Regions from separate parts of the Homo sapiens genome. Here region 2 is linked to region 1. Evidence: promoter capture Hi-C in 16 types of primary human blood cells and fetal thymus (Javierre and others, 2016). All regions are on one chromosome and are shown on one strand. Each heading gives the region's core, a stretch centred on a gene start or on the middle of the fragment in contact. The rest is flanking DNA. Distances are from core to core; before and after follow the strand shown.

Region 1 (7,633 bases), core at 2,232-4,731:
AAAAAATTTGCAAAAAGCAAACCACAATTCTAAAAGAAAAATCTCCTTTCTAAATTTTCTATTAAAAAGCCAGTATTACTCTTACAATCAGAAATAAAAAACAAACGAAAAAGCTTTGAGAATGTGCAGGTCACCTCCAGCACTTTCCGTGGCATTTATTTACAAATATGAGTCATTCCGTTGAGATCTCTCTCACCAGGCAGACATAACCTGTGGAATGGTTTTAAGGATCATTACTTAGGAAGACTTACCTACAAGAAGAAAAGTCAGTGTAAGCATTGTACTTAGAATAATCTTCCATGATCGAGTTACCCTAAAAGAATAAAAACAATGATTAGAAAAAGAATTTAACAACATCATGCATTTAACTTGGACTTTAGCCACTACACTCACGTCAACAAACTTACTTATTTTCATTCTTGCTTAATCTAGGTTGAGTCTATGAATTACTTTAATTTCCAATCCACTATTTTTTAAATTGAGAGAAGATCGTTTTAGTGATGATACACACTCACCAGCATATATGAGTGCGCATACATAGAGTCATGCCTCTTACTTTCACATATGCAATGCTTATGCTAGTATATGTCTATTTATATTCTTAAAATACTTATAAGAAAAAAACAAAGGCAGTTTTCTGGAGGTCTCAAATGTAGAACTAGCTACAAAAAAAGAAAAAAAAGAAAAATCAGGTTCTGATTTTATGGAAATTTTGTACTAAGCTAAAGAACTATGACAGTTAAGAAATATCTGATAAAATTCTTTAAAGCCACCATGACCTTTTTTCCTACTCTGTGTTGAAGTACAGTATGCTATACAAATACGATTTGTGCTCTTTTCTGTATAATTGTACAGACCAGTGATGCCTCACAGAATGAACACATCCATGAAACCTCACCCAGGACTGGAAATTGAGCATACTCAGTTCTGTGGACTGAATTGCACCCCACCCCCCAACACACACACACACACACACACACACACACATTCATTTGTTGAAGCCCTACCATCATTGTTACTGTATTTAGAGATAGGGTCTTTAATTGCTAATTAAGGGTAAAAGAGGTTATGAGTGGGACTCTAAACTAGCAGGATTGTTGTCCTTAGAAGAGGTGGAAGAGAGACCAGAACTTTTTCTCTCTTTGTGCAGTCAGAAGAAAGGTCACATGGGGACACAGTGAGAAGGCAATCCAGGAAGAGAGCCCTCGCTAGAGACCAAATCAGCTGGAACCTTGGACTTCCCAGCCTCCAAAACTGTTAAAAAAAGTAAATTTCTGTTGTTTCAGCCACCCAGTCTGTGGTATTTATTATTGCAGCCCGAGCAGATGAATATACCAAGCCCATCAGAAGCCCATCTTATGCCCTTATCAACCCTATACCTCCCACCTCCAAAGGTACCTGCTCTCCTGAGCTCTATCCCCATTAAGTAGGTTTGTCTGGGTTTGAACCATCTATAAATGGACCCATGTGGGTATGGGCTCTATCTGTCTGCCTCCTGTTCCCAGTCTTAAGTCTGTGAGAGTCAACTGTGCTGTTGTGTATAGTTGTGGTTCATTCATTCTTATAACTGTGTAGTATTTCATTGTGTGAATATATCATGTGGGTATCCATCCTAACATTGATGGGTGTTTGGGGCTATGATAAACAATGCAGTTATAAATATTACTACAAGCAATGCAGCTATGAACATTCTTGTACATGGTTTCTGATGAAGACAAGTATGTATTTCATTTAAGTGTATTTTCAAGAGAGACATTGATGGGTCATAGGATACATGCATAATCCGTTGCAGTAGATTTTGCTCAGTGTTACAAAGTGGTTGTAATGACAACCTTTTCACATCTAACCTTTTAAAAAGCCCTAAAGGGTGGATGGGGAGGGAAGCTAAAATGATCACATTAATCTAACGTGAAGGCTATAAACTTCCGGATAAAGTATTACAAGTTGGCAAACTAAAAATTTCTACTTAAAACATAAGAAAAATCACATTAAGATGGACCATTCATTAACTGTATTCACTAGAGTGGGCCGCCTAATTCTCCCAGTACAGAATCTTTAAGTAGCTTATCTACCCTACATAAAGCAGTCATACCTATTAGCCATCCAAGAGTGTGACAGTGTGGAAACCAACTAAGAAGAGAATTTTCTTAACTCTCTTCCCCTCCAGGGAAGTGTATTCTGGAACCTCTTCCTTTTAACTATTATTGGAGATGTGGAGAGTGGTAGGGGGTCCACTGTATTAAAAAAGTTGTTCATAGGTCAGTTATGGTCTACAAGAGCTCTTTTGGTGGGCTGCATTAAGTGAAAATTATCACATTACCATATTTACCAAAGATTAACTCCAGTGTTTTTCGTTTTTTGTTTTTCACTAGAAAACTGGCTGCCAGGCTCTGCATTGCAAAATTCCTTCGGTGCCTTCACCCAGCCAGTGGGATTCTGCCATTTGGGGCAAGCATATTTTGTTATTACTGTGATTTTGAAATGCTGCTCTACTTGTACTAATAACTTTGTAGCATTCCTTTTATTTTTATTGACAGTTTTGTTCTGTGCAAGTGCTTCATTGTTACCAATAGGAAGGTTATTTCATTACTTGTAGTTTTTGTTTTCCCAGCAGGCAGCACATGGGCAGGGCGTTTGTAAATAGGTTTAGGGTATTTGGATTCCCTGCTATAATAATCCCCACATATGTTCTCACTAGAGGAAACAGGGTGATTCACTCAAAATGTGCATCCCCTACCAGAGTCTTTAGTCAATTATCACCCAAGAATGTAATAAATGCCACTCTGTGCCCAGAGTCCTGAGCCCGGTGCTAAGCTCTGCATACCACCAAGACTATACAAGCTAGCCCAATGACAAAAAAAAAAAAAAAAAAAAAAAAAAAAAGTGAATTATCTGGAAGCTTTTAAGTTCCTGCTGCTGTGGCTCATTCTTTTAAAGAGGGTGGCTCTCCTTTCTTAATCCTTCTCCCAAGTCTGCTGTTATTAATCCAGATACCGTTGACATAGAAGTATTGTGATCAAGTGTAAGACTGTGATGAAGAGAAACCTTCAAAGGAAACTATTGAAAATGATTTTCTCTATAAAGGGAGAAAATACTGTCGGGTAACAGGTAACAGATGAACAGACACAAGTGACAGATGTAACACATAAAACCTACAATTTCAGGCACACCGTTCTGCCATGTTTACCTACCCATTCGCATCAGGATTTTCGTCCTCTGATAACAAAGCATTGCCACTGGCGCTACCGCTGGCGTCTTCAGAGCAACGTCTAAAAAACATGGCAGCCCTTCTTGCCTTTGTTTTTCCACTCATGATCCCCTACCAAAGAACAAACAGCTGGTAGGATGAAGAGCAACATTTGTCCTCATTCCTATTTTATGAAAAACATGAAGCTATACATACAGTTTCTAAATTTGTTTTGTATAATGTCTTCTTCCTCCACGGGTGTTTCTTCTTGAAGACGGAATTTTGAAAAGCTTCTGATTCTTCTGTTGCATCATCCTCCGTGACACCTCATAATGCAGATGGCCACCACGCCCAGCCAGGGCATGGACAGGCAACCACCTCTCTGCTTCAAGGGCCTAATTGTACCATATGTCACACCCACTGAATAATACAAAGGCCCCCCCATGTACCTACCGCTTTTCGATAGCAAATCTGGATGTTTTGCTGTGTTTGCTTCAGTGCTTTTCTAATAAAGAAAATATCAGAAATATAATAGTAGACCCCCAAGTATCCCTGAATCTCAGCACTCTTATTTTCCACAGATAACTACAACCTGAAAATTGATATACTCTATTCTCATTATTTTTGATACTTTACTATGTAAATCTGTATCTATAAATAATACCATTTTCATGCTTAAAACATAAACTAAATGTTATGCCACTCTAGGTTTTCTTACAATATTATTTATCTTGAGACATTAACTCCACTCATTTTAATTGCTCTATGGTATTTCATTATACATACATCACAATTCATTTACCCATCCTTCTGTAAATGTATGCTTAGGTTGTTTTCAGTTTTTTTGGCAAGGAATAATGCTCATTGCACGTTGTTATATGCACATCACAAGGTTTTTCTAAACATACACCTAGAAACAGAATAGTTAGGTGGAAGGATGAGCTGGTTTATTTGGGGCATAAATTCTACGATGACAGTCATTTCACTCTCAGCACTTTGGAGATACTACTCCATGGCCTTGTGGATTGATTGTTGTTGATGAGAATTCTGTCTTATCTTCATTTCTCTGTTTTTTTTGGCAATTTCTCGCGTAGTTTTTAAGATTTTCTGTTTATCCATATTTTCCAGTTGTATTTTAGTGTATCCAGGTTTGATACTAGTTTTTGTTTTTCCTCACTTATAACTCAGAGAGTCTTTTCAATTTGGGTACTTGTGTGTTTTTTCAGTTCTGGACTATTTTTCAGCCATCAGGGCTTCAAATATTGCTTCTCTGCCACTGCCTCAATTTTCTTAGAATGGTCCACCTATTGACACTTGTGTCTCCCTTTTGCTTTCCGTTCAACTGCTCCTTCATATTTGTTTTTGCTTTTTTCTCTTTTTACTTATGCTGATTTCTGGGTGAATTTGTAAGTGTTATTTTTCAATTTACTACTTATTTTCTGAAAGCTTAGATTTATACCAAGAAACCCCCAAGTTTCTACTTTTTTACCTACTAGTCCAAAATTCGAAAGTTACAAAATGGTACACAGCAAATATGGCCTTTCCACCCGGCATCTGCCTTCTAGCTATTGGTTCCCCTCTCTTTTAGCATCTATGCTACCATTTATAGTATTTCCTTTCAAAGATGTGATACACATGCACAGTATGTGACATTGTATTATATATGTAATATTTTATAGGTATATTTATCTCTCCACATTCCTAATGGTAGCTTACTATAAACTGTGCTCTGCATCTTGCTTCTTTCCCTTAAACATGTATCTTGGAAGTTGTTTTGATTGTTTGAGATAATCTTCCTCATTTATTTATGACTGAATAGTGTTTCATTGGGTGAATGGGCCATAGGCTATTTAGCCTGTCTCATATTGATGGGCAGTTTGGTATTTAAAATAATGTGCAATAGTAATCTTGTATTTAAGTTATTATCCATATGTGTGAATATATCTTTAAGGATATATACCCAGAGGAGGAACTTCTGGGTCAAAGTCTATGTGTATTTTTCAAGAATAAATCCGCACATATACAGCCAACTAATCATTGATAAGTTTGTCAGGTGTACACAATAAGGAAAGGACACTGTAGTCTCTTCAATGAATGGTGCTGGGAAAAGTAGATATTCACATGCAAAAGAATTAAATTGGACAGTTATCTTACACCATACCCAAATAATACCTTGAAATAGATAAAAGACTTAAACATAAGACCTCTAACCATAAAATTCCTAGAAGAAAACAAGGAAAAAATCTCCCTGACATTGGTCTTGACAATGACTTTTTAAATATGACATCAAAAGCACATGCAAAAATAAATAAGTGGAACCACATCAAACCAAAAACCAAAAAGCTTTTGCACAGCAAAGGAACTTAATAACAAGAAAACAAATAACTGAATTTAAAAGTTGGCAAAGGTCCTAAATAGACATTTTTTTCCAGAGAAGACATACACATTGCCAACAGGCATGTGAAAAGCTACTCAACATCATTAATCATCAGGGAAATGTAAATCAAAACAACAATGAGATATCACCTCACAGCTGTTAGGATGGCTATTATAAAAAAGATAAACAGCTAGTGTTGCACAAAGTGGTACACGCCTGTAATCCCAGCTACTCGGGATGCTGAGGCAGGAGGACTGCTTGAGCCCAGGAGTTTGAGACCAGCCTGGGCAACATAGCCAGACCCCATATTTTAAAGAAATTGTTAATCTTAAAACAAACAAACAAAAATATATAAAGATAAGTGTAGGCAAGAATGCAGAGAAAATGTAACCCTTGTATACTGTTGGTGGGATGTAAATTGGTATACTCATTATGAAAAACAGTATGGAAGTGCCTTAAAAAATTAAAAATAGAACTACCTTATGATTCAGCAATCCCACTTCTGGGTATATATATCCAAAGGAAATAAAATCAGTGTGTTGAAGAGATATTTGCACTTCCATGTTCATTGTATCACTATTTACAAGCCAAGATATAAAAACAACCCAAGTGTTTATTGATGGATGAATGAATGTGATTTATGCACACACACACACACACACACACACACACACACACACGGTGGGTGTGTGGTGGTGGTGGGGGGAGAGAAAGAGAATGGAATATTATTCAGCCATAAAAAGTAGGAAATTGTGTCATTTGTGTCCACATGAATGAGCCTGGAGAACATTATGCTAAGTGAAATAAACCAGACACAGATAGGTGAATACTGTATGATCTAATTTATATGTGGAGCCTAAAAAGTCAAATGTGTAGAAGCAAAGAGTAGAATGGGAGTTGCCAGTGGCTGATGGGCAGAGGGAGTGGGAATGGGGAGATGTTGGTCAAAAGGTGCAGAGCTTCAGTTACAAGAGGAATACATTCCAGGGATCGAATGTACAGCATGCTGACTACAGTTAGCAACATTGTATTGTATACTTGAAATGTATTGAGGGAGTAGATAGATCTCAAGTGTTCTTACCCCACATACGCATACACAAAGGTAACTAAGTGAGATGATGAATATGTCAATTAGCTTGATTGTAGTAATTATTTCACAACGTACATGTGTATAAAACCAACATGTACAACTGAAACATAGAAGTTTTGTTTGTTAATTATATCTCAATAAAGTTGGAAAAAATCCAAAATGTGTCTTTAAAAATTTCAACCAAAGAAAAAGGCCATTATTTTAACATGCAGAGCACTGCAGAGTCAAAGAAATCCAGTCTCTCTCCTGTGTGAAGAGAAGATGATCTTGTTTCTCCAATGAGGCTGAAAACCCAAACTGCTATAACATTGAAATACATAAATATATATCAAAAAAGGAAACCTTGTCTTTAAATTACTCAGATTATCAGAAAAAAGCACAAAATGTAAAAGCCCCTCCAGTTGGTGGAACCCTGGTGAGACTATGTTGTATGTTCTAGAGGGAAAGACTGAGCTCACAGAGGTGAAGGTTGGAGAGGGGAATTATACAAGGGCTTTCAGCTGCTTGAGATTGGAACAGACAGTAACAAGGCAGGGCAAAAGTGGGAGAGATGGAAAAGCACAAATGGAGGATGTGTCCTGAAAGTTTAAATAAACTAGCTTCAGCCAACAACATGGGTAAACCAACAGAGACCAGGCAGGAAGGAAGGGCCAGAGGGCTTTGAAAAATCAGAATTTGTACTCAAATACATTTTTCCTCTTCTCAAAATGCTCATAAGCAGGAGATTATCTGCATATCTACAAGTAAAGTGAAAAAATTAGGCATAAAGTGAAAATATATGTCAGAGAATGTTGGATCTTTCTAAATACTGAGGCCGATTATGTGGTAGAAAGATGATTATGTCATAAAGTATAGAAAATAAAAACATTGAGATATTCTTATTATAAATAAATTATTCTTGTATCATGTTTTAATTTCCATGGCATCATTACCTACATTCTTGTCTGATCTGGTTTGCAAATATTTGTAATTTCAATCA
Region 2 (7,633 bases), core at 2,157-4,656, 100 kb after region 1:
TTAATAATCAACCTCCTGAACTCTTTTTCTGGCAATTCAGAGATTTCTTCTTGGTTTGGATCCATTATTGGTGAGCTAGTATGATCTTTTGGGGGTGTTAAAGAACCTTGTTTTGTAATATTACCAGAGTTGTTTTTCTGGTTCCTTCTCATTTGGGTAGAGTATGTCAGAGGCAAAATCTGGGGCTCAAGCGCTGCTGTTCAGATGTTTTGTCCCACAGGGTGCTCCCTTGATGTAGTGCTTCTCCCCTTCCCTAGGGATGGGGCTTCCTGAGAGCTGGACTGCAGTGATTATTATTGCTCTTCTGGAGGTAGCCACCTAGAGAAGCTACCAGGCTCCAGGCTGGTACTGGGGAGTATTTGCAAAGAGTCCTGTGGTGTGATTCATCTTCAGCTCTCTCAGCTGTAGATACCAGCACCTGCTCCAGTGGAGGTAGCAGGGGAGTGAAGTGGACTCTGTAAGGGTCCTTGGTTGTAGTTTTGTTTAGTGTGCTGGGTTTCTCGAATGCTGGTTGTGCTAGCAGTGAAGTTGTCATATGGACAGACTCAGGACCTCTGGTTTTCCAGGATGTTGCAGGTGGTGGAATTAGCTTCCTTTTGGTTGTTTTCTCCTTTCTTGGAGCAGGAAAAAATAATTTTATTCTGAAGGAGAATGACTGGTTGTTCTAGAATAGGAAAGCAGATAAAAACCGGACAAAAACTGAGAGGATATAAAAAATAAAAAATGTTGTAGAAAATTTTCAAAAAAGGAGTTTGTGTGGTTGAGCTGCTAAGATTGAGTGGATTTATCTATGAGTTAAAAAATGATAAGTCTTAGGGTCAAAAGGGTACTAATATAAAATTAAAATGGCAATGTTTTTTCAGATTGTTAGTCTGCTCTTAATAAATTGTGAAAGGTTTTTTTTTGTCTCTGAGTAATCTCCCTAGAAAACAAATATTTTTGTGTTTTATTAAAAATAATTTTCTGTGCTTCTTGTCTTTATCAGGTCTTTAATTACCTAAGGAAGCTGACTCTTCTCAATATTAAAAAAAGCTAGCTTTTGTTCTCACCTATGTAACCTTGTATATTTGCCTTTACAGTATTTTATTATCACTTTATTTAAACAGATAGCTAAGTATTATATAATAATAATCTGAGATTATATCCTAGGATCTGTGATCCTAATTAAGTATTAAAACCTTTTGATTTTTTTTACATCTCAAAATCAAATTCTAAATGTGGCCTTTTTTTTTTTTTTTTTCTTACCTTGAACTAACTTTGATCTTTTCTTGGGGGCTCCTGGAAAAACTTAAAATTTTTTTTGCTCTTACAAAAAGATATATGTTAAACTACTTAGGCTTACTTGGTAGTTAAGTTACATGGAAAACATTGCCAAATAAGATGTGATGTTGAATTTTCTTTAAGTTATATTTGTATAGATATGTAGTATTAATATAAGTGTTTCAGAAATTCTGTGAGGTCAACAAAAATTTGTCAATACCCTAGCTGTTTATGACAGTCAACCATAATGTTATCAGGTGACTGATAAGGACCTCTCTGATGGCTCATAGAACCTCCTTCTGCAATAAACATACACCTGGAGTGAGCTGATAAAGAGAAGATGAGGCTTCCTCAGGTTTTGAATTTTATAATGATCTAAATGGAGAACCTTTGTTAAAAATCTGTGACTTTAATTTAATAAAAATAAAGTGTCCAAACAGTCTCTTAAAATCTTTTGTGTAATGATTGCTTGTGGGACTCTGGAAGTATTGTTTTAAATTGCCTATGTTGTGAATATATTGTTATCCTGGATTCTTTCTCCCACATCCCTAAGCTGACATCTTCATAGTCAAGCTTGAACTTGACCATGAAGAAGCAAGGAAAAATGAATATTCTCTCCAGCCCCTTTCTAGATTGTCTAATGGTCATTGGTTTCTAAATGACTTTGAATACCACTGCTGGTAGGAAAACTCTTACATTTAAACAGGTTTCTCCACTGCAGAACTTGTTAGTAGAACTTTTCATCTGCGCAATTGAAATAGAAATTGGGACCTACCACTGATGACTAATTAACAGCTGTATCCAAATAGGTTGGTGTGAACTTGGAGGAAGGTCATTAAGACATTTGTGTGAAAAAAAATCTGAATGTCTGAGGCTAGCTTAATGCAAAAACTGGTAAAAGCAAATGCACTCATAGATTCCCAGAGCTCTACTGTTAGTGTGCAAAATGTAAACTGTTACTTTTTAAGTGTGTACAATTGTGAAGGTGAGAGATTCAGAGCTAGATCATATCTCCGGGTATGAAGCTTGCAGATGACCAAGACAGAATGTGATCCTTCTTCAACCTGAGGGAGATATTGAGTAGAGGGGAGGCAGGTTGGATGTATTTTTCCAGATTCAAAACAGAAAAGATTCTGGTATCCAGCATATTTTGGTTCAGGGTAGAACTTTAATAACAGGAAGGAATGTTCTTTTCTTGACATCCACTTCTTTCTTCTTCCCTTTGTTGCGGAGACTTTGGTAAACAATCCAAAGAGGTAAACTGTATCAGCCCAGTGATATATCAATGAACACCTTCCAGAGGTCAATAATATTATCAAGATAAAAAATGTTTGTCTTGAATTTTTGATTTTCTTTGAAGAATCTGAAGAAATAAAATATCTTCCAGAGATTCTGTCAAAAATCTGGGAGTGAGTCTCTGAACCCTAGGGGTCTCACACTGTTATCGACAATAGGTTGGATCTGAGATCCTGGCAGGACGATAAGGTCCTAGGGAGAAGAAGAGGGATATGAGAAATAGGGAGCATAAACTTTAAATAATAAAGTTCAGAAAATATGATTAAACATTGAGATTATCCAAGCAGAAAGCTTGAGGATGGCCACTTGGGAACACCAATTCCAAACCAATGGAATCAGCATTCCAAAGTGGAGAAGTTACGGTTTCACATATGGATTAGTCCATTTTCACACTGCTGATAGAGACATACCTGAGACCGCACAATTTACAAAAGAAAGAGGTTTAATTGGACTTACAGTTACATGTAGCTGGGGAAGCCTCACAAAATCACGGCTGAAGGCAAGGAGGAGCAAGTCACATCATATGTAAATGGCAGCAGGCAAAGAGAGAGATTGTGCAGGGTAATTCCCATTTTTAAAACCATCAGATCTCGTGAGACCCATTCACTATCACGAGAACAGAATGGGAAAGACCTGCCCCCATCATCTCCCACCCGGTCCCTCCCACAACATGTGGGAATTATGCCTACTTATGTAGGCAGAGACAGAGAAATTTTACACTTTCCATACAAGACCAGTGCATAGTTACAAAGATTTGATTGGTTACAAATTGCTACATTCCAAGGAAGATTATTACTCGGTGAGGAGGGATAGTGATCTGAGGGAGTCTTATCTCTGGTGCTGTCTGGTCTTCCTAATTATTTACAGGAAGAAAATGCAGCAGACTGTATAGACATACCCCCTTAAGGGTCAGAATAATTTAACGTTACGACAGCTTTAAGTACAATTATTTAATTTCACATTTTCCCCTTTTCATTAAGATCTTTCAAAGAAAGTCTTGTAGATAAACTCAAATGGTTTGGGCTCCTTTTGGTTCAGGAGTTTAATCCCACATCACTAGGAAGGCTAATTCTTAGAGTGTCATGTCTCACAGAAGAAGGAGTTTGTCAGGCTCTAAAGCTGATGGGGTATAGGCTGAATTTAAAGCAACATAAAGGAAGTGGCTTTGAGACCTGAGTCAGGCTGCATGGCTACAACTTCAATTAATGCAATTCTTTGAATGACAATTATTTTAGTTTTTTTCAGTTGTGCATTGACTACATTGTGAAAGAATGCCTCAGCAGCAGTAAAGACAAAACAAAACAAAGGATTATAGTTTTGAGAACAAGTAACCACCAAATTCTGCAAGATCCAAACCAGCTGCTCAGCCAATCTTTTAGAGAGGATATTGGATCTGAAAGGGTAGTTTTTTAAGCTTTCATATTGGTGATTAAGTTAGTGATGATCTGACTCATCTGGGGTACAGACATAACACTCAGTTTTTATGACAGCACAGGTTTCTCCTTGGGCTGCAGTGAGTATGTCTGCAGCCCTTCTCATAAGAGCAATGCCATTGTTTAATAACGAGATAACCATGCAGCTATCATTTAGGGCCTCATTTTATATAGTTGGTTAGGGCCTCTACATGCCAAATGGCATACTCAATACACAGTTGGGCAGAAAGATGGAAGCTAAATGATCATACTGATGGGATACAGAACAAACCCATTGATATTATAAATGAGGAAGATTTGCAGGCCTTGAAGGAATATGAACTGCTCAACCTTGTGCCCAGGCATAACCCAAAGAACACCGTCCTAACCATCCTAGGGGTAAATGTGACCACAGATTGGTGCCACACAGCCAAGATACAGCCATTTAGAGCTAGCCAGTAAATACCCACTCTCTGTGCCCATTCAGGGGCATGTCAATCAGTACTGTGTGATATACTGATGTGGTTAGACATTTCCTTGGTTATCCATCACATATCTCTAGTGCTATTGAGCCATGTATCTTTGGTGTGATTCTTTCATTCCCAACTTAAATCTGACCAAAAGAGGAGGTAAGCCAGCTAAAACAGTTCCGAATTTGTATTATATCATCCCCAAATTCAGTTGCTTTATCTCTCAGTTGGGTCAGTGCCAGCATTAAAGCTAATAAATTGGTCTCTTTTACTGAAATGCTCTTCCCATGTGCTTTGCTTTGTATAGTATTATTAACAGGCCAGTGACGCACGTCATCCTTTGTCATGCTAGTATGAAGCAGTGATCACTGTTCTTGAGAAACATGGATATATTTCTGACATTCTATCTAATCTTGTCTTTGGAAAGGAGATATCCACCATGGCAGGCAGAACCACTGGAGAAGGGCATGAGGCCACATACCCAACAAGTGTTTTTCTGTAATCTGCTAGCATGGTCCTGAGCCCACTGAAAGAAGAGGTTTGCTATGGGCAATAACTGTTGATAGTGGCAAGAAAGCCCAAGAACTAGGGACATAAAAACAAAAAAAGAAATTTAGTGGGAACTTCAAAGAAAGATATTCTCCATCTACTAACAATTATTAATGTTTAGCATTTATATAGATACAGGATTAGTCCAGTGTCTTAGGAAAGCTGTTTATCTCAGATGTTGTCTTTTTCTCATTCTTGTTGGTTCTGGAGAATTTTTTTAGATCACCAGTTTGAGACAAAGTTCAAATTGGTGAAGTGGCTTTCTTTTTTTCTTCTTCTTCTTCTTTTTTTTTTTTTTGAGATGGAGTTTCGCTCTTGTTGCCCAGGCTGGGGTGCAATGGTGCGATCTTGCCTCACCGCAACCTCTGCCTCCCGGATTCAAGCAATTCTCCTGCCTCAGTCTCCTGAATAGCTGGGATTACAGGCATGTGCTACCACGCCCAGCTAATTTTTTTGTATTTTTTAGTAGAGACGGGGTTTCTCCATGATAATCAGGCTGGTCTCGAATTCCTGACCTCAGGTGATCCACCCACCTCAGCCTCCCAAAATACTGGGATTACAGGCGTGAGCCACCGTGCCCGGTCAAAGTGGCTTTCTTTAAATGGGTGACATGAGTCAATTCCTTTTAGCTTAGTGGCATGAGGATTGGTTGGGAGCACCTGATAATTCCCTTTCATCTTGGCTGGAGGAAGTCTTTTAAAAGATCTTATTTCCAACAGACAAAATCTCCTGGTTGAAGTCCATGGTCCTAGAATTTTTCATCCTACAGGAGGTCACTGTGGAAAGAGTCTTTTACTAAATTATAGTTTCTAGTTGGCTGCCTTATAAAGCTGTTGCAATTATTCAACATATTCTTTTAATACCATAGATTCACAGTTTTCTGGAAATAATTTCATAGGTCTGCCTGTTATAATTTCAAATGGAGACAGTTGGTATTTACCAAAAGGGGTTGAGTTTAGGCAAAGTAAAACCAATGGAAAAGGTTTCAGACAAGGAATTCTACAAAGCTCAGCAAATTTTTGCCAATTGAGTTTTGATTATTCTATTTGTGTTGAGAGTTAAACTCTGACCTTTTTTCTTCTGTTGTCCAAATTCCTACCTAAAAGGTTTGGGGAGTCATGCACTACACACCATAAAGTCTCCTCAGAAGGGCTTATTTAACATAGCCTGCTTTCCATCCTGACTCTGGCATAACATTACATGACAGATAATGAAAGAAATCAAAATATTTTAACTCCAAATGTATTTCCTTGCCATATTTTGAAATTATCCTGCAAAGTCATCTCTTGAAAAACCTATGTTCTGTAGAGAATCCCCTTTTCCTTTCCAGGCATTTTTCCTGATCCAGGAGAGAATCAGCTAAGAGTCTGGCACCTTTTTAAGTCTGATAAGAATCATTTACAATCTATTGTCTTTGAAACCCACTACCTGGGGGATTCATTTGCATAATAAGAACCTTGGTCGGCTGGCCACAGTGGCTCACTTTGGGAGGCTGAGGTGGGTGGATCACCTGATGTCAGGAGTTCAAGACCAGTCTGACCAATATGGTGAAACCCCATCTCTACTAAAAATACAAAAATTAGATGGGCGTGGTGGCACACGCCTGTGATCCCAGCTACTTGGGAGGCTGAGACAGGAGAATCACTTAAACCTGGGAGGCTGAGGTTGCAGTGAGCCGAGATTGAACCACTGCACTCCAGCATGGGTGACAGAGTAAGACTCCATCTGAAAAAAAAAAAAAAAGGAAACTTGGTCTCCACAACCCCTTATCTTAACCCAGACATTTCCTTTCGATTGGTCCTAGGTTTTTCAATAAAGTCTTTTAACCAATTGCTAATCAGAAAATATTTAAATCTACCAATAACCTGGAAGCCCCGCACACCCACCTTGAGTGGTCCCGCCTTTTTGGACCAAAGAAATGTACATCTTAAATGTATTTGATTGAAGTCTCATGTCTCCTAAAAATGTATAAAAACTAAGCTGCACCCCAACTGTTAATGGTGGAGGGTCTCCAGGTACTTGACATCTTGAACAAAGAATTGGACAAAATGCACAAACAAATCAAGAAAGGAATGAAGGGTTTTATTGAAAATGAAAGTACAGTCCACAGTGTGGGAGCAGGCCTGAGCATAGGGGCTCAAAGGCCCTGTTACAAAATTTTGGGGAGTTTCAATATCCTTTGCTTTGGGTATGCCCTATGTAAATGAAGAGGATGAAGTAAAGTTACAAAGTCATTTACTTGGACTACACTCTATGGAGAGGCTATTTCCTGTCACAGCTGAAGTGTGAATCGGCCTTATGTTCACTGCCTCCAGACCCTATTTTCCTGCCTCATCTCCCCACCGAGAGATGTGATGAACCCAAAGCCCAAGGTCCTGAAGTTTTGTTGTAGTGTGGATGGCAAGGAAACTCTCCAATGTTCTCAGAAGATCCAAACCATAAAAAGCCTTTTTACCTGGTGAAAATACACTGCAGCATAATAATCTACTGTTATAACATCAGCCATCTTGCATGAGAAAGCTTTACAACCAGAAAACATGCATTGAAAATAACAATCAAATGAAATCCCTTTATAACGTTTAAATGGCCTACCAGGTATTTTCTTTTCTTTTTTCTTTTTTTTTTTAGACAGAGTCTTGCTCTGTC

What was found. Contacts are between HindIII fragments. The CHiCAGO score rates a contact against its expected background, and 5 or more counts as called.
Region 2: a fragment that was not itself captured here is called in contact with the fragment with the promoter of SUN3 in region 1 in 1 of 17 cell types (total CD8 T cells); the score reaches 5.9 in total CD8 T cells.

Annotation. Positions count from the first base shown.
Region 1 is chr7:48,025,626-48,033,258 of GRCh38, forward strand. It overlaps SUN3 (Sad1 and UNC84 domain containing 3), which reads right to left and starts at 3,482. Exons shown (of 10, transcript NM_001030019.2): 1 at 3,192-3,482; 2 at 252-313. The coding sequence starts at 3,313. RefSeq lists an enhancer at 2,673-3,872. The HindIII fragment of the contact is 1,156 bases long and covers 3,476-4,631 here.
Region 2 is chr7:48,126,991-48,134,623 of GRCh38, forward strand. No RefSeq gene overlaps it. Among named protein-coding and RNA genes, the nearest start is that of ABCA13, 41 kb to the right of the region's middle. RefSeq lists an enhancer at 6,084-6,691. The HindIII fragment of the contact is 1,123 bases long and covers 2,846-3,968 here.